Linked DNA regions of Homo sapiens: all the other regions are linked to region 7. The links are contacts of gene promoters, found by promoter capture Hi-C in blood cells and fetal thymus (Javierre and others, 2016). All regions are on one chromosome and are shown on one strand. The core of a region is centred on a gene start or on the middle of the fragment in contact, and the rest is flanking DNA. Distances in the headings are between cores, read along the strand shown. Region 1 holds the start of PLEKHG5 (pleckstrin homology and RhoGEF domain containing G5). Region 2 holds the start of TNFRSF25 (TNF receptor superfamily member 25). Region 3 overlaps NOL9 (nucleolar protein 9). Region 4 overlaps ZBTB48 (zinc finger and BTB domain containing 48). Region 5 overlaps DNAJC11 (DnaJ heat shock protein family (Hsp40) member C11). Region 6 overlaps NPHP4 (nephrocystin 4). Region 7 holds the start of RPL22 (ribosomal protein L22).

Region 1 (3,875 bases), core at 1,352-3,851, 290 kb before region 7:
AGGCAGGGGCAGGGGTGGGATGGCCCAGCCTTCATAGAGGTGAGGCCTGGGAGAAGAGAGCTGGTCTCAGAGTGGGTATGGTCCCTCTGCAGCCTCCAGACCTCACCTCCAGCCCTGGCCTGCCTGGAACTTGGCACAGCTGACATTGGCATCAGCTGATGAGGGTCACCCAGCGTGCACGGGGAGAGTCTGGGCCCTGTCACTACTGGGACGCCCTTTGGGACAAATGGCACAGACTCACTGTAGGGGCAGAAATGCCTGAATTATCAGAGGCATAGAGAGCCAGTCAGGGAGGGCATCCTGGAGGAGGGGGCCTTTAATGGATGTGAAAACATGGATAGACAGAACAGAGGCAAGGGCAGTCCAGGAAGGGAGAGGCAGTGGTGGAGAGGAGGTGCGGGGCACTCAGATTTGGTAAGAGAAACAAAGAATAACATTGTCGATGATGATAATAATAACCACTACTGGCTGGGTGTGGTTGCTCATACCTGCGATCCCAGCACTGTGAGAGGCTGAGGCAGGAGGACTGCTTTAGCCCAGGAGTTTGAGGCCAACCTGGGCAATATAGGGAGACCTCTCTCTACTAAAATTAAAAAAAAGGCCTGGCGTGGTGGCTCACACCTGTAACCCCAGCACTTTGGGAGGCCAAGGCGGGCAGATTGCCTGAGCTCAGGAGTTCGAGACCAGCCTGGCCAACATGGCGAAACCCCATCTCTACTATAAATATAAAAATTAGCTGGGCATGGTGGTGGGTGCCTGTAATTCCAGCTACTCGGGAGGCTGAGGCAGGAGAATTGCCTGAACCTGGGAGGCAGAGGTTGCAGTGAACTGAGATCATGCCATTGCACTCCAGCCTGGGCAACAAGAGCAAGACTCCGTCTAAAAAAAAAAAAAAAAAAAAAAAAAAAAAATTAGCCAGGTGTGGTGGTGGGTACCTGTAATTCCAGCTACTGGGGAGGGTGAGGTGGGAGGATCATTTGAGCCTGGGACATTGAGGCTGCAGTGAGCCGTGATTGTGCCACTGCACTGCAGCCTGGGCAACAGAGCAAGACCCTGTCTCAAAAATAACAGGCCAGGCGCAGGGGCTCATGCCTGTAATCCCAGCACTTTGGGAGGCCAAGGTGGGCAGATCACTTGAGGTCAGGAGTTCGAGACTAGTCTGGGCAACATGGTGAAACCCCATCTCTACCAAAAATATAAAAAATAATTAGCCGGACATGGTGGCACACACCTGTAATCCCAGCTACTTAGGAGGCTGAGGCAGAAGAATCGCTTGGACCCTGGAGAAGGAGGTTGCAGTGAGCTGAGATCACGCAATTGCACTCCAGCCTGGGCAACAGAGCGAGACTCTGTCTCAAAAAACACCCAATAATAATAATAATAACAATTATTGCTGACCGAACATGTTTACATGCCAGGCGGGGCGTTAGGCCCTCCTGCTTGTCTCAGTGAAGCTTCTTGAGACCCTCAGGAGAACAGCGTTATTCTTATGACCACATGACTTGTAAGGAAACGGAGGCCCAGAGAGGTAGAGGAACTTGCCCACATCACACAGCATGATCGTCAGAGCCTGGCCTGCGTGAGGCTTGTCTGATCAAGAGCCCTATTCTTACTCTCCAGGATGTGACTAGCGTTTTGAAGGAGATGACTTCATTTATTCATTTACCAGACCAGCTCTGAGCATCTGTCGGTGCCAGGCCCAGTTCTAGGCCCAGGAGATCTCCAGAGAACAAAGGGGATGCCCTCCTGGAGGTGACATTCTAGCTGTGCTGGGAGGAAGGAAGGGAAGTGACCCTGGCTGGCCAAACTTCCCCCCAGGCTGCCCTGGCAAAGGACCAATTTCAGGCAGGGCTGGACCCTTCGGCTTCTGGGCCCACCCTTGATGTTTTATTTGAGGCTCTCCTGGGTGCTGGAGCTTCTGAGATGAATTTGCCATCTGTCCCCTACCTCCTGCCCCTGGAGTTCCCACTGGGAGGAGGGCTAACCAGGATGGGCTTCCTGGAGGCAACTGGAGTCCTGAGGATTAAAGAGGTACTGAGATGGAGGACAGCTGAGTGAGCAGGGGGGGACATTGGGGGCTATAAGGGGCAAGCGAGGCCAGGGGGCACAGGGAGAAGGGGACGGGAGGAGGGGGAGGCAGGCTGCACTAGGAGCACCTGCATGTCCAGATGAGGGGTCTGGACTGTGTGTCATGGAGACCCCAGGAGAGAAATGGCCCCTCCCCAGGATGAAGATATGTAGAGCAGTCCACACCTCTGAGCTCCAGGATCAAACCTACTTTTTTCCAGCTGTGCGACCCTGGGGAAGTCACTACACTTCTCTGAACCCCAGGTTCCTCATCTGGAAAATAACCCGGCAGCGAGGATTAAAAGAGGCCCATATATAACATGCTTAGCATAGAGCCTAGCACAGCGTAGGTGTGCAAGGTGTCCTGGGAGTGGGGGTAACAAAGTCACCTCTAGACTTTGGGTGTGCCCTCCGTACCTGCCCTGGGATCTGAGACCTCCCCAGGCTCCATCCCAGCTTCTTGCACACAGGTGGAGCTGTGAGTTTGGGGAGATGGAGAAAGGCCGGGAGATCAAGGCAGACTAATGATATTGTGGGTTCCCCCTGCCCTCCTGTGAGGTGGCCACGGGACAGTGTGTGGACTCCCCAGCTCCTTGCTGGGCTCCACTGGGCACTGTTCGAGGTCTAGTCAGGGCGTCCCAGGTCACAAGGGGGCATGGAGGAGGACACTTGTGGCCCTGGGCCACAGGGGACATTGGGCACCACATGTGAGGGTGTTTATCATGGAGGAGGTAGTGATTCCAGCAGCCGCCATTGATCCAGCACGTACTGTATGCCAGGCCCTGCCTTAGCGCCTGGCACAGAAACCTCATCTGGCCGCCTCCCCCGCTGCGGTGGGGCCTACCCCATCTCCGTTTCCTAGAGAGGGCCCTGCAGAGTGGCGAGGTAAAATGACTTGCCAAGCAAGGCAAGATCAGGACTCAAACCAGGCCTCTCTGTCAGAGCCTCCCATTTCCTCAGAACTCTCAGGAGGAAAGGGAGGTGAATTTTTCTGCACAGCTCCCAAAGGCCTTGACAGGGAGGTGGGGTTCAGCACACTACAGGAAAGAGTTTCCAGCAGCTGGAGCTATCCCCGAAGTGGAGGTAGTGAGCACCCCATCACTAGACATATGCAAGAAGAGACAGAAAGGGAAGCGTAGAGGGGATTGCAGTGTGGAGTGGAGGTTGGATGGGAGGACTTCAGAGTTCCCTTGCAGCTTAACAATGGCCTGTGAGGTGGCAGGGATGAGTCAGGGTATGCGTGTGTGGAGGGAGGGGTGGTGAGATGAAGACCAGGGAGAGGAAAGGGTGGACCTGAGGCCCCCATGGAGAAGGGACGGGCAGGATGTGAGTAATGGGAGAGGCAATCACCTATTCTCCTGGGCAATGCTTTGGGGGTGAGCAGCGGCAGACCAGGATGCCCCAGGGAATGGCCAGGTTTGGGCCATCTCTGGAAGTGACTGGTCCCCGGAGAGAGGTGGTGGGGCTATCTGCAGCTGAAGAAACGGGCAGGGCCAGAGAAACAATGCAAGGGGACTCCTGGGTTTTGGCTAAGTAGTTTTGGGGGAGCAGGTGAAGACGTGGGGATCCCTGGCCCAGCCAGGAGCTGCCCTAGTATAGGCCCAGCCCCAAGGGTTGTGTGGGGCAGTCTGGAGGTTTTGGCCTGGGAAGGGGTCGGGGGAAGGCTGTATAAAAAGCTTGAAAGTGCGGAACAGGTTGGTGGACCTGAACTCCACCTCCTCGAGTGGGCCCCCTGTATCCACACCCTTCCCAGTCCTGAGCCCAGAGTTATTCTAAACTCCCGCTGCTGGGAGAGGGGAACTGGGAAC
Region 2 (3,736 bases), core at 851-3,350, 270 kb before region 7:
CGCCCCGTCTCCGCCGCCGCACCCCTGTCCAGCTGTTGAGCTGCCCGCCCCACCTGCTCAAGTCTAAGTCCGAGGCCAGCCTCCTCCAGCTGCTGGCAGGGGCTGGCACCCATGGGACACCCTCTGCCCCCAGCCGCAGCCTGTCAGAGCTCTGCCTGGCTGTTCCAGCCCCAGGTATTAGGACTCAGGGCTCCCCTCAGGAAGCTGGGCCCAGCTGGGATTGCCGAGGGGCCCCTAGCCCTGGCAGCGGTCCTGGGCTAGTCGGCTGCCTGGCCGGGGAACCTGCAGGCTCCCACAGGAAGAGGTGTGGAGACCTGCCCTCGGGGGCCTCTCCCAGGGTCCAGCCTGAGCCCCCACCAGGGGTCTCTGCCCAGCACAGGAAGCTGACCCTGGCCCAGCTCTACCGAATCAGGACCACCCTGCTGCTTAACTCCACGCTCACTGCCTCGTGAGTGGCCTGGACTGGGGTAGGGCAGGTGGCTCAGGGCACTGGCATGGGGGCCCACTCATGCCTGGGAGCATCGCATTTGGGGAGGGTCATGGCGGAGGGAGCCTGAACCCTGCCCAGTGTCTGGGCGCAGGGGGCTGTGGTGGGCAGCAGTGAAGGGGCCTGAGGAGTGCCGTGGGGAAGAGAGGGTGACCAGAGCCACTCTGAATGGCGTCAGCCAAAGAAGGACTCTGTCCCCTCCCCACCCTGTAGGGAGGTCTGAGCAGAGGGAGGCCCCCAAGAGTGCCATTGACCAAGAGACAGCAGACAGCCTGCCTCCTGGGGCGTGCCGGCACCTGCTTCAGCTACTGCCTCCTGTATGCATGAGCCGGATGCTGGGCAGGATCCCTGCCTACGCCCGGGCCCGATTTGCGCTTTGCCGGACTGGATGGAGTGGAGGAGGCCCAGGCCACAGTACCACCCCACCTGCCCAGGCAGCCCCTCGTCACCTACTCCCCGAAGTTACCAGCTCAGCTCGAGTCTTCAGGGCTGGGCTCCTAGGCTGCCCATCCTACTTCTACCCTCACTGGCCTCCAGTGGGATTCACTCCTGCCCTGCCCCCACCTTCCCAGTCCCACAGGCCACCCCTGGCTTGGGCTGGGTTCTGTGAAGTTACGTATTTATTGAGCTTTTGGTTCTTTTATAAAGACTTGTCTAGACTCCACTGGGAAGAGTCCTTTGCTTTGGGGCCCAGTGACTCGGGGCACTTGAGTTCAGGGCGGCCTCCTTGTGTTCCTGTGCTCCTCCACTTGCCACGGATGGGCCACGGATGGAGCTTGCCATGGGAAGCACTGGGAAGTAATGGGGTGTGGGGTGCCACCAGACCAACACCCCCAGACTTCCCCACCTTCAGCCACCATCAGAGCCTCTCCCCAGGTGCCCCCCGGGGATTCAGGGCTGAATCTGCCCAGTTCCCACACTCAGGCCAGCCCTCTTGGGAAGGTGGGTCCTCCATGGGGGTCCCTTCAGGAACTTTTTTTTTTTTTTTAATACAGAGTCTCACTCTGTCACCTAGGTTGGAGTGCAGTGGTGTGATGTCGGCTCACTGCAACCTCTGCCTCCCGGGTTCAAACGATTCTCCTGCCCCAGCCACTCTAGTAGCTGGAACTGCAGGTGTGCACCACCACGCCGGGCTAGTTTTTGTATTTTAAGTAGAGACGGCATTTCACCATATTGGTCAGGCTGGTCTCGAACTCCTGACCCCAAGTGTTCCGCCCGCCTCTGCCTCCCATAGTGCTAGAATTACAGGCCTGAGCTACTGCGCTTGGCCCCTTGCGGTACTTTTGGCCCAACCTCCTCCATGGCTGGGGACGCGGAGGCCGAGAGAGAAGTCACTTGCCCTGGCTCTACCTTGAAGTGGTTCTCAGGGTTGGGGCGAGAGTCGGGGTGGGGACCGAGATGCAGCTCTATCCTGTGCCCCTGGTCGCAGCAGGCAGCCCAGCGCTTCGCGTGTTCTACTTGGCCTGTCCGCTGCCGCCTAATGAGCTCAGGTCTAGGCCGAGCAGAGGGGGCACCTGGTCGGACTCGGTTGGGCTCGGGCGGCCCCGCCTCCCCCCGCCCGCCAGGCGGGCCCTTCTCGACGGCGCGGGGCGGGCCCTGCGGGCGCGGGGCTGAAGGCGGAACCACGACGGGCAGAGAGCACGGAGCCGGGAAGCCCCTGGGCGCCCGTCGGAGGGCTATGGAGCAGCGGCCGCGGGGCTGCGCGGCGGTGGCGGCGGTGAGTTGAGACGCAGGAGGCTAGGGGCAGCTTTGAGCCCTGTCCCAAGAGCCTCGGTGAAGGAAGGGGCCCCGGGCGCGTCTCCACTCCAAGCCTCACTGGGGGCTGGGTTGGCCGCCCTTTCCGATCTCGTTAAAGGCTCCTCCAGGGCGTAGCCCTTCCACTGAGAGGAAACCCCTCCCAGGAGGGTCTGGGGGCCCCAGGCAGAGCATTATCAGTGTCCCTCCCCCAACAGAAAGCATGGGTGGGGGTGGGGGCGCTGCTGGATTCCTGCTCTGGTGGAGGGGAAACTTGTGAGGGGCTGGTAAGCGCCCCCTCCGAAGCCTGGTGTGTGCGCGGGGGGAAGGAAGTTAGTTTCCTCTCCACCCATGGGCACCCCTTCTGCCCGGGGCCTGGGAAGTGGGCTGCTCTGTGGGCAAATGCTGGGGCCTCTGAAATGGAGGAGACGCAGCAGGGAGAGGCCCCACGTGGGCAGCTGCGCTGAGAGTCAGCAGCACCTGTCCCCCAGGCGCTCCTCCTGGTGCTGCTGGGGGCCCGGGCCCAGGGCGGCACTCGTAGCCCCAGGTGTGACTGTGCCGGTGACTTCCACAAGAAGATTGGTCTGTTTTGTTGCAGAGGCTGCCCAGCGGGTAAGTGGCCACAGGGGTGGGAGAGGCATGGGGCAGGCAGGGCTGGAGAGGTGGCGGGCAGGCCCGGGAGGTAAGAGGAGGCTGGCAGGGGAGGTAGGGGTAGGCTGACAGAGAAGTAGGGAGCTGGAGAGAAAGAGGGAGGGAGGGCAGGGTGGGAAGCAGGTCGGGGGTTGCTGGGCAGCCCCTCTGCCTGCCTGACCCCTGCCTGGTTCCACAGGGCACTACCTGAAGGCCCCTTGCACGGAGCCCTGCGGCAACTCCACCTGCCTTGTGTGTCCCCAAGACACCTTCTTGGCCTGGGAGAACCACCATAATTCTGAATGTGCCCGCTGCCAGGCCTGTGATGAGCAGGGTGAGGGGCTTCTCAGTGCTTGGCAGGGAGTTCCTAAGGACAGGCCTTTCTGAAGGAAGTGGCTGGCTCGGGCCCAAACTTGGGGTGTGAGGGTCCTGCACCCACCCTTGCCAGAACCCTCCACCCTGATCCTCCTTCAGGGTGCCCTTGCCCCTTCTCTCTTCCTGGTGACCTTCCCATCTCTCCATGTGCCTTGGCCTCTGGTCGGCCTTAATCTCTGAGCTTCTCTCTTTTTTAGGGTAGCCCTGTACCTGTCTGTCTTTCGCCTATTTCTGTCTCCATTATCTTGGGATAATGCCTCTGCCTCTCCATGGGAGCCTTTGGCCCTGACTAACTCTCCACTCCCCATCTCCCTGCACCCCCACCAGCCTCCCAGGTGGCGCTGGAGAACTGTTCAGCAGTGGCCGACACCCGCTGTGGCTGTAAGCCAGGCTGGTTTGTGGAGTGCCAGGTCAGCCAATGTGTCAGCAGTTCACCCTTCTACTGCCAACCATGCCTAGACTGCGGGGCCCTGCACCGCCACACACGGCTACTCTGTGAGTACCCCCACC
Region 3 (3,669 bases), core at 1,149-3,648, 340 kb before region 7:
GTCTTATGGTAGTTCTGTGTTTAATGTTTTGAGAACTGCCAAACTGTTTTTCACAGTAGCTGCATTTTACATTCCCAGCAGCAATGCACAAGAGTTCTGATTTCTCCGTATCCTCACCAATGCTTATTTTGATTATAGCTGTCTGAGTTTGTGTGAAGTAATGTCTCATGTTGGTTTTCATTTACATTCCCTTAAATGACTAATGATGTTGAGCATGTACTTATTGGCCATTTGTATATCTTCTTTGGAAAAATGTCTGTTCCAGTCCTTGAATATTGCTTGTGTGTTTTTTTTGTTCGTTTGTTTCTGAGACAGAGTCTTGCTCTTTCGCCCAGGCTGAGGTGCAGTGGCGTGATCTCAGCTCACTACAGCCTCCACCTCCCGGGTTCAAGCAGTTCTCCTGCCTCAGCCTCCCAAGTAGCTGGAACTACACCACGCCTGGCTAATTTTTGTATTTTTAGTAGAGATAGGGTTTCACCACATTGGCCAGGCTGGTCTCGAACTCCTGGCCTCAGGCGATCCACCTGCCTCAGCATCCCAAAATGCTGGGATTACAGGCATGAGCCACCACACCCAGCCTGCTTGTTTTTTTGTTTTTTGTCTGTTTGTTTTCCTTTTTGAGACGGAGTGCCGAGGCTGGAGTGAAGTAGTGTGATCTCAGTTCACTGCAACCTCCGCTTCCTGGGTTCAAGTGATTCTCCTGCCTCAGCCTCCCGAGTAGCTGGGATTATAGATGCCCGCCACCATGCCCAGCTAATTTTTGTATTTTTAGTAGAGATGGGGTTTCACCATGTTGGCCAGGCTGGTCTCGAACTCCTGACCTCAGGTGATCCACCTGCTTGGCCTCCTAAAGTGCCTGGATTACAGGCGTGAGCCACGGCATCCGGTCCCAGCCTGCATGTTTTTGAATTGGATTGTTACTTTTTGTTGAGTTTAGTAGTTCTTCGTATTAATAGTAGTTCTTTATATTAATCCTTTATGAGATGTACAATCTGCAAATGTTTTCTCCTGTTCTGTAGGTTGTTTTTTTGCTTTCTTGACAATAACCTTTGATGCACAGTTCTTAATTTTGATGAAGTTCAGTGTATCTATTTTTTCACTTGTTGCCTATGCTTTTGGTGTTACATCCTTGAAATCATTACTAAATCCAATGTCATCATGATTGTCTCTAATGTTTTCTTGTAAGAGCTTTATAGTTTTTAACTTTTTAAATTTTTTTATTTTTAAATTTTTCAGCCTGAATTTGTTTGTTCAGTTTTTACTCTTTTTTTTTTTTTTTTTTTTTTTTGAGATGGAGTCTTGCTTTGTCGCCCAGGCTGGAGTGCAGACGGGGTTTCACCGTGTTAGCCAGGATGGTCTCAATCTCCTGACCTCATGATCCACCTGCCTCGGCCTCTCCAAAGTGCTGGGATTACAGGTGTGAGCCACCGCACCCAGCCCAGTTTTTACTCTTAAGTTTAGGTTTTTGATCCATTTTGAATTAATATTTTCATATAGTGTAAGGAATTGGTCCAGCTTCTTTCTTTTGAATATAGATATTGAGATTTTCCACCACCATTTGTTGAAAAGACTATCTTGAAGATTGTTTGATCTTATATGTATGGGCTTATTTCCTGGTTCCGTTTCTGTTTCATCAGTGTACATGTCTGTCCTTGACCCAGTATCATATTGTTTTAATTACTATAGCTTTTCGGTAAGTTTTGAAGTCAGTACAAGTGCCTTACCCATTTTTCAGTTGGGTTATTTGTTTTCTTGCTGTTGAGTTTCTTGTGTTCCTTACATATTTTGGATATTAACTCTTTATCAGATGGATGATTTACAGATGTTTTCTCCCATTCTGAGGGTTGTCTCTTTGGAATTTTTTCCTTTGTTATGCAGAAGCTTTTTAGTTTGATGCCATCTCATTTGTCTGTTGTTAACCTTTGTTTTCGGGGTCATATCCAAAAAATTGTTACCTAGACCAGTGTCATGAAGCTTTTCCTCTAGTAGGTTTACAGTTTCAGGTCTTAATACTTAAGTCTTTATTCCATTTTGAGTTGATTTTTGTATATGGTGTTTGATAAGGATATCTAGTATCCTTCTTCTCCCCGTGGATAACCAGATTTCCCGGCCTTATTTATTGAAGACTGTCCTTCCCCCTTGTTTTGTTATTAGCACCTTTGTCAGAAGTCAATTGGCTGTAAATGCAGTGTTTATTTCCAGGCTTTCTATGCTGTTCCATTGGGTGATATGTCTTTTTTTATGCCATTACCGTGCTTGGTTTTTGAGAGAGACAGTGTCTCACTCTGTCACCCAGGCTGGAGTGCATTAATTAGCACAATCATAGCTCACCGCAGCCTTGGATTCCTGGAATCAGGTGATCTGCCTTAGCTTCCCAAAGCACGGAGATGGCAGAGCCACCATGCCTGATCCTGCCATGCTGTTTTACTTAAAAATTAATTTAAAAATATTTATTTATTTATTGAGACCGGGTCTTGCTCTGTCACACAGGCTGGAGTACAGTGGCGTAATCACAGCTCACTGCATCCTCCACCTTCTGAGCTCAGGCTAGCCTTGCAGGTAGCTGGGAAAACAGGTATGCACCACCAAGCCTAACTCCATTTTTTTTAGACTTTGTAGAAACAGGGTCTCCCTATGTTGCCCAAGCTGCTCTCAAACTCCGGAGCTCAAGTGATCCTCCCACCTAAGCCTCCCACAGTCCTGAGATTACAAGTGTGAGCCACTGCACCTGGCCTTATTTTTTCCTTTGAGACAGGATCTCAGTCTGTCACTGAGGCTGGAGTACAGTGGTGTGATCATAGCTTACTGCAACCTCAAGCTTCTGGGCTGAAGGGATCCTCCTACCTCACTTTGAGTAGGTAGGATGACAGCTATTATTAGCCACCACACCTGTCTAACTTTTATTTTTTTATTTTATTTTATTTTATTTTATTTGAGACGGAGTCTCGCTCTGTCACCCAGGCAGGAGTGCAGTGGCGTGATCTCGGCTCACTGCAAGCTCCGCCTCCTGGGTTCACGCCATTCTCCTGCCTCAGCCTCCCGAGTAGCTGGGACCACAGGTGCCTGCCACCACGCCCGGCTAATTTTTTGCATTTTTAGTAGAGATGGGGTTTCACCACTTTAGCCAGGATGGTCTCGATCTCCTGACCTGGTGATCCATCCGCCTCAGCCTCCTAAAGTGCTAGGATTACAGGCGTGAGCTACCGCACCCGGCCCACACCTGGCTAATTTTTGAACAATTATTTGTAGAGGCAGTGTCTCACTTTGTAGCCCGGTCTGGACCATGCTCTTTTAATTATAACTGCTTTTGAAGTCAGAGAATGTGATACCTCCAACTTTTTTTTTTTTTTTGAGATGGAGTTTCGCTCTTGCTGCCCAGGCTGGAGTGCAATAGCACGATCTCGGCTCACTGCAACCTGTGCCTCCTGGGTTCAAGCAATTCACCTGCCTCAGCCTCCCAAGTAGCTGGGATTACAGGCACCCGCCACCATGCCTGGCTAATTTTTTGTATTTTTAGTAGAGGTGGGGTTTCACCATGTTGGCCAGGCTGGTCTCGAACTCCCGACCTCAGGTGATCCACCTGCCTTGGCCTCCCAAAGTGCTAGAATTATAGGTGTAAGCCACCATGCCCAGCTGACCCTGTCTTAAAAATAAACAAAAACAAGAAAA
Region 4 (3,945 bases), core at 942-3,441, 390 kb before region 7:
CCTTCAGTACTTTTTGCAATAAAAGTATTTCCTATCCATTTGGAGTCATTGCCTTTGTCCTCCTGCTACTGTCTTCTGGGACTCTTGGGCTGAGGACAGATGTCAGGGGAACAGGCAGCATGGAGCCCAGGGTTCACACTGAGGGTCTTAAACAGCCTTCCAGGCCCTTTCTCATCTCAGATTGTAGCAAGTGATGAAGCGTTGGAAAAGACATGCCCCAGAGGCTGGGTGTGGTGGCTCACACCTGCAATCCCAGTGCTTTGGGAGGCTGAAGAGGGAGGATCACTTGAGCCCAGGGGTTCAAGACCACCCTGAGCAATACGGGAAGACCTTGTCTCCATTTAAAGAGAGAGGCCTGAGAAGTAAATGCTGTGGAACAGATGATGCCCAGGAAACCTGCCTGCTCCAAAGCTGGTCTTTGCCTGTTGGTCCTCTGCCCGGGCCCGGCTCCCACAGCCCTTCTTGAGATTGCGGTACATACAGGTGGTGATGAGACTCCCATCTGCGATGAGATGGCCCTTGGACCTGGGGAGGTGGAGCCCTTCAAATACAGTCCCAAACCAGGCTGTGAATCCACACAAGCCGTCTGGCTCAAGATGTTTTTCCTATCTGCAGAGTCCATCTGAACCTGAGGGAGAGGCCAGTGTCTCGGCTGGGAAGGAGAGCAGTGTTGAGACCACAGTGGGCCTCTTTTTTTTGTTGTTGTTTTTTAAAGACAAGGTCTCATTCTGTTGCCTAGGTTGGAATGCAGTGGTGCAATCTCGGCTCCCTACATCCTTCGCCTCCTGGGTTCAAGGGATTCTCGTGCCTCAGCCTCCTGATGCACCACCACACCCAGCAATTTTGTATTTTCAGTAGAGAAATGAAGCTGTCAGTAACTTACCCAGGGCCAACTTAGTTGGGAAGAAATTTAAACAACAGCAATCTGCTCTAAGGCCCACGTGCATTTGCTCCTTGCCACACAGTACCCCACAGCTATAGAACGTGGGGACCAAAGCCTCCTGGACACAGACCAGGCTGCTTGAAGGAAGGGCCCCACCCTCCTCAGACCCCCAGGCGTGCTCAGCTACACTAACTGGGCCCAATCCTTGATTCTGCCCAACAAGGCCAGCCCCGTGGGCCCTGATCACTCTACTGAACTCCAGAAGCTTAGTAATGAATTCTATCTCCAGAAGCCGGTATCACCTCAGCTCTAAAATAGGAATACTGGTGCTCTAACTGGCCAGCGTTCCCCACTCTAAAATCCTGCAGTAATGAGGAACAGAATACAGATGTGGAGAGCAGCCAAGGCCAGAGGTTTGGCCCCCAAAGGAACCCCATCCAAGCCTCGCTCAGCTGAGGTTTCCTGACAGGAGGGGAAGCTGCCAGCTGAGCTGAGGCCCACATAGGACCGGGCAGGGCACTACTCTCTCCTGAAGGCGTGGGTGGGAAGGCAGCACTTCCCCAACTCCAGGACACGGGAACAGACTGTCAGGCTGAAATACGAGAGTCCAAAGCCACACGGTTTATTGAGGGGTGGGGCCAAGTGGGCTCTGGTGGCCAGAATGGGCTATGTGTCACAGTCCTCGGGGACAGCAGCTGTGATGATGAGGGAGGGCTCCAGGACACCTGGGCCGGTGAAGCTCTCCTCTGCACACAGTCTCTGGCCGGGGAGCTGGGAGGCCAGGCCGCCCTGGGCCAGGGACTCCACAATGACCTCCGCCGAGCCCACCTCCAGCTCTGCAGGCGGCTGCAGCGCCACCACCACCATCTTCTCGTCCTCGATGATCAGGTTGCGGAGCTTGCGCTGCCGCGGGTTGTAGTTCTCTACCCGGTCGTGGATCTCCATGTGCCTCCGCAGGTGGGCCTGGCGGGGAGGGTGAGCTCAGAACTTTGGGGGATCCTAGGGTAGGGGAAGGGGCCCAGGCCCTGGCCTACCTGTCGGGTAAACTTGTAGCCACACTCGGTGCACTCAAACTTCCTCACCCCCTTGTGCCGTCTGACGTGCACACGCAGTTGCTCCACGGCTGCAAGAGGGAGAACACCGTGGGGGATCATGCAGGAGCCCCGGGACCCTCGAGGAAACCCAGCAGGAGGTTGGGACAGGCAGCAAGGGAGGGGACCAGTGGTTTACAAGTGCTGCACAGGCCCTGCCAGGCTCTCCAGTGCCACCCAGGGTCACTACTGCACAGGACACCCCTGCCTTCAAAGCAGGTCCACTCTCAACTCTAACCATGTGGGGCACAAAAGAGGTTCACAGGCAAGAAAGGAGCGTTTCCTCCTCAGAGACCCTCCAACTCGGATGAGCAGGAAATGGCTCTCCCAGGGCCGCCCAGGTACCTTTGAAGGTCTTGCCGCATATCTGGCAGAAGTGGGGCCGGCCCTCCTGATGGCGGCTGGCCACGTGCCTCAGGAGGGGCCCCTTCTCAGTGAAGCGCTGTTCACAGAACTCGCAACTGAAGGGCCTTTCCCCGGTGTGGGTGCGGTTGTGCTTGTCCAGGCTGGCTGCAGGCACAAGGCAAGAGCTCAGCCTGTGGCCTTGGCCTCAGGATGGGGAGGCGAGGGGAGGGGCAGGGCGTACCTCACCTTGGGTTCGGAAGGTCTTGCCACAGAGGTGGCACTGGAAGGGCTTCTCACCCGTGTGTGTGCGCAGGTGCATGTTGAGATTGGCCTTTTGGGTGAAGGCGTGGCTGCAGAACTCACATACGTGTGGCCTCTCATTCCTGTTAAGGTGGGGACATGGGGCAGAGGCCATCACCAAGGGAAGTGACCCCCTTGCTCTGCTACAGCTAGGAGCATGCCTGGTGGAAAGAGGGCTTGGGCAGTGCTAGGAAAGGGGCACCACCTCCACCCCGAGAGCAGAAGGACAATCTATGAGCAGGAGTCACAGGAAACTAAGGAAGCTCAGAATCTGCCCCGGGGGCACAGAGGCTTGTCTGAGCCTGAAACATCTGCCCCCAGCCTCTCTGCCTGGCATAGCTGCTTGCCCCTCAGGTCCCACTATCCCAGAGAGGCTGTAGGCACTAGATTCAGGGTGGAGGCCAAGGGCACACTCATCTGTGTAAAAGTCAGCAAACTCTGTCTTCCCTGCCGGTGCAAGCCTGGGCTGGCAGCAGGACTGGGCCCCAAGAGAGAACGGGCGACACGCACCTGTGCTTGGCCTTGATGTGCATCTGCAGGCCATTCCGGCTCGAGGCCCGGTGCCCACACTCCTCACACACAAACAGCTTCTCACCACGGTGCTTGAAAGCTTCATGCAGCTGCAGCTCTGTCCGAGACAGGAAGCACTTGGCACAGGTGGGGCACTGCAGGCAGACCAGGCAGGCAGAGGGAGGGACCAGGGCCAGGGTGAGAGCAGGGAAGGGCTGCCTGGGAGACCCACAAGCACCCCCCCGAACAACAGAAAGTACATGGCCGGCTGCCCACTCTGGGCACAGCTCACTCTTGCTCATGCCAGCATCAAAGCATGCCCAGCCCTCCCTGTCACTTACTGCATGGGGCTTGGGGGCTCCATGAAGTTTGATCATGTGGCTCTGCAAGTCCTTCTTCTGCATGAACTGCTGGGAGCAGGAGGAACACTGAAAAAGAGGCCCACAGTCACCTCCAGGGCGGCCTGCACCCATGAAACCCTGCCACCCACCCTTGGGCTATAGGGCAGGAACTAGAGGGAGGCCCCGGTGAGATGATTCTGGGAGGACCCCTGATCTGGTGTGAAGGATGGTGCAAAGGAGGGCCCTCAGGGCTCAGCTGCCCAGAGGATGCCAAGCCTGTCCTCCATGGAAAGAAACAAGGGCCTAATAAGGACCTTGGAGGTGAGGCTGCAGACAGTAGCCCTGCCTAGATAAGGGGGCACTGGAAAGGCAGGGAAGGCAGGGAAGGCAGGCTCCCTGACAGCTACTGTGAGGGAGGTGCCTGACAGCACCCCACGTAAAGGGCTCAGCAGGAAGGATCCTGGGGCCACCCAAC
Region 5 (3,722 bases), core at 1,035-3,534, 470 kb before region 7:
CTGGCATCATGTATTCTGTTTAAAGGAAGATATAAATAATCAAGGCTGGCAGAGGCCTGTGGGAGCTGAGAATGAAGTGCCCTGCCCTGCTAAGTGTCTTCACCGCTCCAGAAAGGCTGGCCATTTTGGCTTTGCTGTTAGCTCTGATTATGTACCAACTATTTGCAAAATTTGTGTAAAATATGACTAAAAATGGAATGATCTGCCACCTTTGGATTATTTGCGTTCGTAATTCATCACAGAATGTAACAGAGAGAAAGTAATTTTCAGCTGTTAGTTCAGTCTTCAAAGATGAAACAGCTAAAATTCCTGAAAATGAATCTTTTCCTGCTGCAGCCTTTGTGAAGCTTCACACTTTCCAGGCTTTGTTTTCTTTTTTCTCCTACAGGGTTTGAGTCCAGGATTTTAATTCTCAGCAGCTAGCAAACCTGTTTCTGAAAAAAATAGTAGTGTATGGGCATATTCATGGGCCTGCTTATGTCACTGATTAAAGTTATGGCGAATCAAACTTTCATTAAAATCTGCATTTTTTAAAACTAATATCCTGTTGAATAGAACACTCAATTATAAAATTTCTATCCAGGCCGGGTGCAGTGGCTCACACCTGTAATCCCAACACTTTGGGAAGTCAAGGCAGGTGGATCACTTGAGGTCAGGAGTTCAAGACCAGCCTGGCCAACATGGTGAAATGTCATCTCTACTAAAGATAAAAAAACTGGCTGGGTATGGTGGCACAAGCCTGTAATCCCAGCTACTCGGGAGGCTGAGGCAGGAGAATTGCTTGAACCCTGGAAGCGGAAGTTGCAGTGAGCTGAGATCGCATCGCTGCACTCCAGTCTAGGTGACAAAGCAAGACTCTGTCTCAAAAAAATAAAATATTAAAATAAAATAAAATATCGCTGGGCGCAGTGGCTCACGCCACTTTGGGAGGCCAAGACAGGCAGATCACGAGGTCAGGAGAACAAGACCATCCTGGCTAATACTGTGAAACCCAGTCTGTACTAAAAATACAAAAAAATTAGCCGGGCGTGGTGGCGGATGCCTGTAGTCCCAGCTACTCGGGAGACTGAGGCAGAAGAATGGCATGAACCCATGAGGCGGAGCTTGCAGTGAGCTGAGATTGCACCATTGCACTCCAGCCTGGATGACAGAGTGAGACTCCATCTCAAAAAAAAAAAAATGGCCAGGCGCAGTGGCTCACGCCTCTAATTCCAGCACTTTGGGAGGCCAAGGCAGGCGGATCATGAGGTCAGGAGATCAAGACCATCCTGGCTAATACGGTGAAACCCCGTCTCTACTAAAAAAAATTAGCCGGGCGTGGTGGCAGATGCCTGTAGTCCCAGCTACTCAGGAGGCTAAGGCAGGAGAATGGTGTGAACCCGGGAGGCGGAGCTTGCAGTGAGCCGAGATCGCACCACTACACTCCAGCCTGGGCAACAGAGCGAGACTCTGTCTCAAATAAATAAATTGAGCAAGACTCTGTCTCAAATAAATAAATAAATCAAATCAAGTCAAATCAAATCTCTTTATCCAGATTGGAACATCCTGCATCCTCTGAGCTATGTAGAGGAACTGTCTGCATTCAGACAGCCTCACACTTAGACCTCCTTGTCCTTGGGATGGTCACCATCCACTGAGTCCAGAGAAACTGTGGCTCCACAGTCAGGTCCACTGAATTGGGCTGTAAAGTCATGAATAATTTTTAAAGTATTTTAAAGCATATTTTCTGGATCTTCAAACTTAATGGAATAGTTGATTACCTACATTTCCCTGAAGCTCTTTCATTTTTATTTTCTTTCGATGCAGGGAGGGGCTGACATGAGATTGAGAAGATAATGGAAACTTTGAAAAATTGTACCTTGCTTTTGTCTATGTCAGGATGGGTGGTATTGGCAAGTGAGAGTGCTGTAGATAGGTGACGCACCCTCGATGATTTTAAGCCTGGGCAGCGGGAACGCATCTTGTTCACGAAATAGAACCCAGAATGCCCTTGCGAGGTCACAGAGCAATCACTGTCATGCCACTTAGGACCTTTAGTTTGTTCTTGGATGATTTTAACAATCTTTTTATTTTAAAGCTTCCTTAAAAAGAACCACTTCCCCCTTTTTAGTAATTATTGATTTATATTGGGTTATTAGAGAAGAAAATGTTTTCAATATTTTTAATGTTTAAAGTAGTGGACGAGTTCCTAGGATTTTTTGGATGCGTTTTTGTATTTTTTTTTATTTGTTGAAAAATAAAATCAAGTTGCACAAAGCCTGTAATATCTTATTTATATTGAATGTGTGTATGTGTGTGTGCACGTGCATATGCGCACATACGTAGGTACATAAGCATGCATAGAGAATTTTTAGGAAGAGATACAAAAAAAATTGAGTGTGAGCCTGTGAGATGAGTGTGAGCCCATGAGAAGAGGGAATATGGGTAAGGGGAATCGCATACTTTTTATTTCCTATCCTTCTGTTCTATTGATTTTTTGCTATAAGCTTGTATTTTAAAAAATAATCTGGGCGGGCGGATCACGAGGTCAGGAGAGCAAGACCATCCTGGCTAACATGGTGAAACCCCGTCTCTACTAAAAAATACAAAAAAAAAATTAACCAGGCGTGGTGCCGCACACCTGTTGTCCCAGCTACTTGGGAGGCTGAAGCAGGAGAATGGTGTGAACCAGGGAGGCGGAGCTTGCAGTGAGCTGAGATCGCACCACCGCACTCCAGCCTGGGCGACAAAGCAAGACTCCGTCTCAAAAAAAAAAAAAAATTATTTTTTGAAACGTGAAATTTCCAAGGAAACTTTTTCTCACATCACACCTTTTTAGATAGTCTGTGAGCAGCAACTCAAGACTCCCCTGTGTTTCTCCCATGGATGGGCAGAATCTGCTTTCGTATACCCCTGCCCCCTCCCCCATCCATCTGATAACTTTGGTCGTGATAGAAAAAGAGTAACCACTGTTTCTGTCCTGTTCCCACACTGTGTGTTTCTCACCGGTGCACACAATTTCACACCATAAACAGGACCCTTAGAAATCGTGCAGTGCGGTTGCCTCTTTCACGGTGGCCTTTCCACTTCTTTGAAATGTCAACTAGATGGTCTTCCTTTCATGACGAGCTAAGAAGGGCTGAACTGGAATTGAAATGCCTTCTTTTCTTTTCTTTTCTTTTCTTTTCTTTTCTTTTCTTTTCTTTTCTTTTCTTTTCTTTTCTAAGACAGAGTTTCTTGCTCATGTTGCCCAGGCTGGAGTGCAATGGCGTGATCTTGGCTCACTGCAAACTCCGCCTGCCGGGTTCAAGTGATTCTTCTGCCTCAACCTCCCAAGTAGCTGGGATTACAGGCACCTGCCACCACGCCCAGCTAATGTTTTGTATTTTTAGTAGAGACAGGGTTTCACCATGTTGGCCAGGCTGATCTCAAACTCCTGACCTCAGGTGATCCACCCGCCTCGGCCTCCCAAAGTGCTGGGATTACAGGTGTGAGTCACTGCGCTAGGCCTCGAATACCTTATTTTCCTTTTTCTTTTTCTTTTTTTTTTTAAGAGAGAGTCTTGCTCTGTTACCCAGGTTGGAGTGCAGTGGCATGATCTCAGCTCACTGCAACCTTCACCTCCTGGGTTCAAGCAATTTTCCTGCCTCAGCCTCCCAAGTAGCTGGGATTACAGGCACCTGCCACCACATCTGACTAATTTTTGTATTTTTAGTAGAGATGGTGTTTCGCCATGTTGGCCA
Region 6 (3,832 bases), core at 987-3,486, 260 kb after region 7:
ATGGCGATCTGGCCTGCCATCGCGACTGGGCCGCTCTCTCAGGAACAGCCTGTGAAGGAGCATGAGGTGCTGAGGACGGTCTTAGGGTGTGCCTCAGGCCGGAGAGCAGGGTGTCGGGGTGTAGCTGCCATTTGGTGTTTCTAATCTCTTCTGGTAGCGGCGAGTTGACCTTGCCAGTGTCCATGCCTCCGGTCCCTATGATTCCGAGTCCTAATTAGGTGCAGAAATCCAGAAGTGCCAAGCGTTCTGTGGACTGACACAGTCACAGTCATTTAATGAAACTGTTCCAGTTCTGCTTTTCTTTACTTATGACCAGAAATTTCAGCTAAAATACAGCTGTTTGTGAATACCCTTGGGTGGGAGGGGTCTTCTGGGGTGGGTGTGGCTCATGGGGAGGGATGGGGCTGCCCAGGCTGGGGAGTGAGCGGAGGAGAAATGGCCTCAGGGTGTCCTGGCAGCGCCTGATGGCTGATGTGTGGTTCCCAGGGGCTGTGGGGGGAGGTGGGGAGGAGCAGGAGGGCTGGCGCCTCACTCTCAGTGTCTTCTAGAGAATATTAATTGTAATTTACTTGTGATTATGACATCTGTATGCTGAAACCAAGATGTCTTAGCGATACTTTATTCTTTTTTAACCCTCATCTGAAATTCCTGACAACAGGTGGTTTCGATGGTGGCCGCTTCATGGGCGTCTGGGGTGCGGGTGCGGGTGAGGCTATGGAGTCACTGATTTCTCTTCTCTTCTCTTTTCGAGACAGAGTCTCACTCTGTCGCCCCTCAGTGGCGCGATCTCGGCTCACTGCAACCTCCGCCTCCTGGGTTCAAGTGACTCTCCTGCCTCAGTCTCCTGAGTAGCTGGGACTATAGGCACGGGCCACCATGCCCAGCTAATTTTTGTATTTTTAATAGAGACGGGGTTTTCCCACGTTGGCCAGGCAGGTCTCAGACTTCTGACCTCAAGTGATCTGCCCTCCTTGGCCTCCCAAAGTGCTCAGGTTCCAGACGTGAACCACCGCGCCCGGCCAGTCATTGGTACTTTCCGATGTGCTGGTCGATTGTAACTGGGAATACTGGATTCCACTTTACTGTCATCAAGTGCGCTTTCCTGGGTGAAATCTGGAATGGAAATGTTGCAGTGTGTGAAATGACCTTCCACACAAAAATTGCTTCCTGTGCGGAACCATTGGAAGTGGGTTAAGCATCCACCGGGTGAAACTGGAATTGAGCGGGACGTGAGAGGAGAAAGGCACAATGGCGGGGCCGTCTGTGACGGTGGCTGTGGTAGAGGAGCCCAGCGCGCTCCTTGGAAGGCCCAGGGCGGGCTGTGGCAGGGCCCTCCCACCTCAGCCACCCCGTCTGCAGCAGTGTCTCCCAGAGCAGCCTTCTTCAGCTGGGTGGGGATTTTTTCAGCTGGGTGTGGTTGTGCCTTCCGGCTGCAGCGTCCTCCTCCTTGTCTTTGGTGAGGACCCTGCGTGGTGGAAGCTGTAAGCACAGCTGAAAACAGGCTGGCTGGTGCGATGGGCCCCACGGAGCTTCCCCGGCTGCCAGCTTCCTGGACAATCTGCTTCTTCTATGTCCTCTCCCACAACCCGTTTTGAATTATTCTGAAACAAATTCCAGGCATCATTTTATTTCATCTGTAAACCTTTTGGCATGAACATTTCTTTTTTTTTTAAAAACTTTTTTATTTTGGGAAATTTCAAAGCTAACAGTGGAGAAGCATGTGGTGCGCTCCCTGCACCCACCTCCAACCCCCAATTTATCGCTCATGTCTCATCTCTTTCTCCCGTCCCGTTCCACCTGGGCTATTGGAGACCGCATCCTAGACATTGCATCCTTTCATCTACAGATGGCTCACCATGTCTCTCCAAAAGACAGGGCTCTGGAGTGTCACTGTGAACACCATCATCACACCTAACCTTGACTGCATTTCTTAGTATCATCAAACATCCAGTCAGCCTGGGTGTACATTTTTTAAGTATTTTACTTAATAAGAAACGGACAAACCCCAGCAATGTGCTTTTCCCTGGAAAGTGACTTGTGACAGCCGTCTTCCTGCATGAGCTGGGCGGCCTGTCTGTTGTTCCCTGGCAGTGGCTTCCTCATGTTGCCTTTGACTGGAGGATCTGCTCTCCCTGTGGCCCTGCTGCCTTCATCACACATTCGTAATGCTGGGAGAGCCAAAATGCACCAGGCTTTTGGCAGCTGCTTCACTTGGCCTCATGCATCAGATCAGGAGGCAAAAGCTATGGTGTCTAGGGGCCCTTTGTGGAAGGATTCATCTGTAAATGGTATGCACAGACGAGGAGGCTACCTGGGCTGATGAGAACATGGAACAAATACTGTGTTCAGGGCACACCCAGGCACTGGAGTCTGCATGTATTCTTTGGGTCCTGAGTATTTTGTAGTCATTGGAAACAAACTAGGAACAAAAGTTTTGCCAAGACACACTCACTGACTTTAATCTGCTGTTAATTTTTTTGCATTTTTTAGTTAACCAAAGCATCTAAAACCTTTTTCCTGTAATTTATGTTTGGGTTAGCTGTGAAGAAGCTAAAGAAACTACCAAAGAAGTAGTCCCTCCTGTCCAGACCACTTTCTTCCCAGGATCCTGGGGACAGTGCAACCTCATTTGACTGCCACAGCACTGCCTCTTTTGAAATGTCTTATGCATGCAAGTGTGGGCTCCAGAAATGTTTGCTGACTGAATGAGTGATGGAGCAAACTCCCTGTAACATGAGCATGAAATGCAACAGGGGCAAACCTGCAAAAATCACCAGATCCGGTGTCTTGGCTGCGTTTCATGTCTGAATAAGCGGGCATCCTCCTGAGCCTCTGGGGGTGAATACAGTCCTTTTCTGTGGGTCACATGACAAAATAACCCTCTCCCCAAATCTCTAAGGGGTGAAGATTTGCCTGATTTATTGTTTATGTATTAACTCATATTCTTGGAACAAAATCAATGGCCCATGTTCCAGGGTCTGTTGAACTGATCCATGTGTGTCCCTGATGGCCTTTCCTCCAGTACCGTGTCCAGTTCAGGATCATGTCTTGTGTCTGGTTTCTGTGTCTCTTTGACCTCCTTAATTCTGGAACAGTTCCTCAGCTTTTTTTTTTTTTTTTTGTCATTTATGATTTTATTTTTAATATTTTAGTCTCCTTTTTTTTTTTTTTTTTTTTTGAGATGGAGTCTCGCTCTGTTGCCCAGGCTGGAGTGCAGTGGCGCGACCTCGGCTCACTGCAACCTCCGCCTCCTGAGTTCAAGCGATTCTCCTGCCTCAGCCTCCTGAGTAGCTGGGACTACAGGTGCCTGCCACCACGCCCGGCTAATTTTTTGTATTTTTAGTAGAGATGGGGTTTTACCATGTTAGCCAGGATGGTCTCGATATCCTGACCTTGTGATCCACCCGCCTTGGCCTTCCAAAGTGCTGGGATTACAGGCATGAGCCACTGTGCATGGCCTAGTCTCCCTTCTTTAAAAAATTTTTAATGCGTATGTTGCTTGGGTTCATCTGATGCTTCCTCATAGTTGGAGTCAGGTTGTGCCTTCCTGGTAGTGGTCCGTGTGAGCAAGGGGCAGTCCTTGGGTCCCACATCCAGACGTGCATGTGTTCATCCTGGGCGAGGTTGGTTGTGGTGATCTTTGCTGATATCTCCACTGTAGAGTTACCTTTTTTCCTCCATGCAGCTAATAAGTGATCTGTGGGGAGACTCTGAGACCACGTGGGTATCTGCTCCTCATCCGATTGTCCCCCTTGGGTTGGCGTCGTTTATGCTTCCTGCAGGAGGAGGAGCCCCAGCCCAGCTTTCCCACAGACCTGCAGCTGGCATGGCA
Region 7 (4,017 bases), core at 1,097-3,596:
TGGGGGTGAGGGTGAAGAGGTGAGAATGGGCTCATGAGGGTCAGGGTGATCTACGGGACACTAGTCTAGAGATGCCAAGGATGCCACTGGCTGTACCTGTGGGGAGTCCAGGGAGGGGTAGAGGCTGCACACATTGGCCTGGGGAGTCATATTTAAAGGGAAGAGCATGTGGGTCTTGTCTAAAGATCAAGTGTAGATAAGGACGGGAGGAGGCTGGGTGTGATGGCTCCCGCCTGTAATCCTAGCACTTTGGGAGGCTGAGGCAGGAAGATTGCTTTAGCCCAGGAGTTCTAGATCAGCCTGGGCAACATAGCCATAGTGAGACACCAACTCTCTACAACAGCAAAACAAAACAAAACAAAAAAACATGCAGCTGGGCATGGTGGTGCACACCTGTGGTCCTAGCTACTCAGGAGGCTGAGGTGGGAGGATTGCTGGAGCCTAGGATGTCAAGGCTTCAGTGAGCCGTATTCGCACCACTGCACTCCAGCCTGGGCAACAGAGCGAGAGCCTGTCTCAGAAAAAAAAAAAAAAAAAAGAAAGAAAAAGGAAAGAACAATAAAAGTCAACTGCTGAGAGGGAGGTTTAGGAAGAAGGGGCTGGCATTATGACTGAGGTGTGAAATAGTCTTTTGGGCCAGGTGCAGTGCCTTATGCCTGTAATCCCAGCAATTTGGGAGGCCAAGGTGGGAGGATCACTTGAGCCCAGGAGTTTGAGGCTGCAGTAAGCTATGATCACACCACTGCACTCCAGCCTTGGTGACAGAGCAAGACCCTGTCTCTATTAAAAACAACAAGAAAGGGAAATAGTCCCTTGGGGGAGAGATTTAGGATTGTCAGTAGCCCTGAGGGCTCGCTTAGGGTCCGTTATCAGCCAGGGTCCAGTCAAAAGACAACACATTATAGTTTTTAACTGAGAGAATTTAATATAAAGGATTGTTAACTAGGTATAAAGATGTGTTTAGGTAACTGTCGGGGTATAATACTAACAGTAGCAACTGCAGGAAGTAGCTACCACTGGTAGGTGGTATTATTAAAATGTAGATGCTTGAGGAGGGGCACAGGGAGGTGAAACTCAGACATCTGAGGAGAGGGTGCTGCTCTGCTAGGGCTGGTGTCTCTGAGGAGAAAACGAGGCTGGTTCTGCAAATGTTGGAATAAGTGCAGACTGGATTCCACTGCTGCTTCCAGAATGTTCCAACTGCCACCTCCAGGATAAAGAAGCAAGAGTGGATGACACCAGACAGGACAGGAGCAAGCAGGAAGCAAAGCCCCCTATTGATAGAGCCAAACCGGGATCAGCTGGAAAGCAGAAGTGTTTGCAGAGGCCCAGCCTGATCATTATAGAGCCAAGAACAGCAGCTGGCTTTGGAGCTTGGTCAACCGGCTTGAGGCCTGAGTTGAAAGCTAGACCCATCAGCACAGTCTCTTCTGGTGATTGGACTTTTGCTAGGTGAGTACACTGAAGCCAGGTAAAGGGAGTGGAGAGTGTGTGTGCCACTGAGTGATTTACAATTCAGGATCCTGGAATATAATTCCGTGAGGACGCAGCGGGTGACTGGGTGCAAAGTAGCCCAGTTCAAGGGACCTGTGGGCCTGGGGATGAGGACCTTTGCTTCTCCACATGCGGTCCATGGACTCGCAGCATCAGCATCGTCTGAGAGCTTGTGAGAAATGCAGAATTTCAGGCCACTGAGACCGCTGGAATTGGAATCTGCATTTTCCAGATCTCCTGGTGGTCCTCAACTACTTACTGGTTTGGGATGGGAAACTAGAAGGCTTGGGCTGGGAAACTAGGGAGTGGTGATCAGCGAGGGGGCGGCCTGGCTACAGCAAAAAGGACAGGCACTGGGAGACAGCCCCTGGGCATGAGCTTCCAAGCTGGGGCTTTTTGAGGAAGCCATAGTGGTCTGGCATTGGGACCTCTGAACGAAATTTCCCGGTGGCTACAAGGAATTTTCCCACTTCCCCAAATTAGTAGATTCGATTTCCATCCCACTAGCTGGTAATTTACAGTATAGTGAATTTCCTTATTTCTTTTTTCTTCCCAAGACTTTCAAAAAGTAAAGCCAACCCCTTTATTTATCTTTGGGCTCGTCCAGTCTGGCTTCCCCCCTCCGATCGTTCGCAGTGGGACAGCCCGCCGGGCCTCCTTCCTTCCCCAGAAACCCTCCAGGCCTGGGAGAGGACGCGTTTTGCATTCAGGAAAAACCAATCGCTCCCCTATCGTACATAACCAAGAGAAAAGGTGGCGGACGAGGGGCGTGGCAAAGTGATTAGTGCGGCCTGGACCCTGCGTGCCTTGCGCGCTGCGGGCTCTTTGCGTCTGCGTAGTTCGCTCACCTCCCTTTCTAACTCCGCTGCCGCCATGGCTCCTGTGGTTAGTATGGCTCCGCGTGAGGCCTCGGCTCCAGGGGAGGCACGTGGGCCTCGCCGAGCCCGGCATCTACCCAGGCTCGCTGGGGACGGCGCCCTGCAGCGTCCTGCTGGGGTGGGCTGGCAGGTCGGCCGGAGCGGGCCAGAGCCCCTGCCGATCCCAGCACGTTGTAGGCGGAGGAGGCCGCGGCCCGAGGCTCGTGAGGGAGATCCGGGAGGTCTCGGAGGCCCGGGGCCCCAGCTAGGGGCTAGCGGGGAGCTGGAGCCTGGAGACTGCGGTCTGGGCCGGCCACTGGTCCTCGGACCCCGGCCGGGGGCCTGATTACCTGGGTGGAGGGCGGGGAAGAAGAACGGGACCTGCTACCCTGGGGAGCCGCGCATTCGGAAGTCCACGGCCAAGACTCGGGGACGAATCCGCGGAAGGGCGGCTTGGTCGGCGTGCTTTCGGAGAGGAGGCCTGGGTTTGAGGAGCTTTTTAGCGTCCCCAGAGGAAATTAGTTTATCAGGGCGCACTGTACAGACCCAAACGGGTGTTGCAGTGGTGTAGGGAGAAGGCTCTCATTGCATTCTCCTTTAGCTATGCTGGGACTGGGCTGTGCGGCGCCCTCCTCCTAGGTTATTTGAGAAAGTTGTTTTTCCGTGTTCTTCGTCCCAAGATCCTACTTTTCCTCTTTTGTTGGGACTCCCTGGTTAACATTTCCGGTTCTTCTGCTCTTTCTGTCTGGTTGGGCTTTTGAATGCCTTTTGGTTTAAAACCTTGATGGAGAAGTATCAAGCCCGTTGTGGGTAGGTCTCTTGATTGATTGTGTGTGTTCGGAATAGATCTTAAAGTACCCCTCTTAGATTATTACTGCGAAGAGACGTTGTAAAAAATAAATCAGTGATTTTTGTAGTGGCCAAATGTTTGAAAAGTTGATCCAGTTAACACAAGTTTTAGATGAAGTTCTTTTAAACATGAAGGGAGGTAAGATGTGTTTTTGGAAAAGTCTATTTAGTTCTGCAGAGCTTTTAAACGTGAAAGTACAGGTTGGTACGATGCACAAGTGCATTAATGGTGTCAAGTTTGTAGAGAGATAAGATTAACACAAGCTTCTTCGTAAGAGTGAAGAAACTGGAACCTTGTAGGATGTGCTTTGCCGGGTGGTTTGGAAGTACTAATGCATAGATGAAGCGAATCAAAATGTCAGAAGTTCTTGACGGTAGTGTTGTAATAAGATTCTAGGTTTTAGCCTTAACCTTGTCCAAGCTGGAGTGGACAGGCACCTAGAATACTTTGCAACTCCCTTCATGAGAAGGTGGATGAGACAGGATTAAGGGAGATGAGCTAAGACGGATCAGGACCCTACTCTGAACATGTAGGACAAGGATTGATTTCATATGAAAATTGTGGGTATGCAAGGCATTTTGTATGCCTGCACTCTAATTTTGGAAAAATAGTATTTTTTTGAAATTGGGAATGTTAGGGCAAACAAAAGGAAGTGTTCATTTTATTGTGGTTCATAAACTAAGAGACCTTCATGCCTGTAGAGATTGGGGAGACTGGAAAGTTTGAGTGAGTCAAGAGTGCTAGAATGATTTCCCCATCAAAAGGGCATGACCCCAGGCCCCAAGCTTGTACAGCAGCATCTGCCCCATTATACCT

The links. The method cuts DNA at HindIII sites, captures the fragments that hold promoters and counts their contacts. A CHiCAGO score of 5 or more calls a contact.
Region 1: a fragment that was not itself captured here is called in contact with the fragment with the promoter of RPL22 in region 7 in 1 of 17 cell types (fetal thymus); the score reaches 5.9 in fetal thymus.
Region 2: a contact is called between the fragment with the promoter of TNFRSF25 here and the fragment with the promoter of RPL22 in region 7, in 10 of 17 cell types (activated CD4 T cells, naive CD4 T cells, erythroblasts and 7 more). The highest score is 11.3, in activated CD4 T cells.
Region 3: a contact is called between a fragment that was not itself captured here and the fragment with the promoter of RPL22 in region 7, in 1 of 17 cell types (activated CD4 T cells). The highest score is 6.2, in activated CD4 T cells.
Region 4: a fragment that was not itself captured here is called in contact with the fragment with the promoter of RPL22 in region 7 in 2 of 17 cell types (activated CD4 T cells and M1 macrophages); the score reaches 5.7 in activated CD4 T cells.
Region 5: a fragment that was not itself captured here is called in contact with the fragment with the promoter of RPL22 in region 7 in 2 of 17 cell types (total CD8 T cells and activated CD4 T cells); the score reaches 6.5 in total CD8 T cells.
Region 6: a fragment that was not itself captured here is called in contact with the fragment with the promoter of RPL22 in region 7 in 1 of 17 cell types (total B cells); the score reaches 5.1 in total B cells.

The regions. Positions count from the first base shown.
Region 1 is chr1:6,491,155-6,495,029 of GRCh38, reverse strand. It overlaps PLEKHG5 (pleckstrin homology and RhoGEF domain containing G5), which reads left to right and starts at 3,363. Exons shown (of 21, transcript NM_020631.6): 1 at 3,363-3,393. The HindIII fragment of the contact is 2,289 bases long and covers 1,457-3,745 here.
Region 2 is chr1:6,464,537-6,468,272 of GRCh38, reverse strand. TNFRSF25 (TNF receptor superfamily member 25) reads left to right here and starts at 2,100. Exons shown (of 10, transcript NM_003790.3): 1 at 2,100-2,204; 2 at 2,713-2,833; 3 at 3,051-3,185; 4 at 3,554-3,721. The coding sequence starts at 2,166. PLEKHG5 (pleckstrin homology and RhoGEF domain containing G5) reads left to right here. Exons shown (of 21, transcript NM_020631.6): 20 at 1-448; 21 at 701-1,151. The coding sequence ends at 710. RefSeq lists an enhancer at 1,331-2,279. The HindIII fragment of the contact is 14,059 bases long and covers 1-3,736 here.
Region 3 is chr1:6,535,611-6,539,279 of GRCh38, reverse strand. All of the region lies in intron 6 of NOL9 (nucleolar protein 9), which reads left to right. Among named protein-coding and RNA genes, the nearest start is that of NOL9, 17 kb to the left of the region's middle. The HindIII fragment of the contact is 844 bases long and covers 1,977-2,820 here.
Region 4 is chr1:6,586,817-6,590,761 of GRCh38, reverse strand. ZBTB48 (zinc finger and BTB domain containing 48) reads right to left here. Exons shown (of 11, transcript NM_005341.4): 6 at 3,471-3,557; 7 at 3,130-3,284; 8 at 2,566-2,702; 9 at 2,320-2,484; 10 at 1,918-2,006; 11 at 1,482-1,846. The coding sequence ends at 1,550. KLHL21 (kelch like family member 21) reads left to right here. Exons shown (of 4, transcript NM_014851.4): 4 at 1-38. Among named protein-coding and RNA genes, the nearest start is that of ZBTB48, 8.8 kb to the right of the region's middle. The HindIII fragment of the contact is 2,081 bases long and covers 1,151-3,231 here.
Region 5 is chr1:6,668,995-6,672,716 of GRCh38, reverse strand. The region is part of intron 3 of DNAJC11 (DnaJ heat shock protein family (Hsp40) member C11); the gene reads left to right. Among named protein-coding and RNA genes, the nearest start is that of DNAJC11, 31 kb to the left of the region's middle. The HindIII fragment of the contact is 409 bases long and covers 2,080-2,488 here.
Region 6 is chr1:5,941,877-5,945,708 of GRCh38, reverse strand. All of the region lies in intron 9 of NPHP4 (nephrocystin 4), which reads left to right. Among named protein-coding and RNA genes, the nearest start is that of NPHP4, 49 kb to the left of the region's middle. RefSeq lists an enhancer at 1,243-1,743. The HindIII fragment of the contact is 5,858 bases long and covers 1-3,832 here.
Region 7 is chr1:6,197,924-6,201,940 of GRCh38, reverse strand. RPL22 (ribosomal protein L22) reads left to right here and starts at 2,346. Exons shown (of 4, transcript NM_000983.4): 1 at 2,346-2,379. The coding sequence starts at 2,368. RefSeq lists a silencer at 2,455-2,594. The HindIII fragment of the contact is 15,793 bases long and covers 1-3,466 here.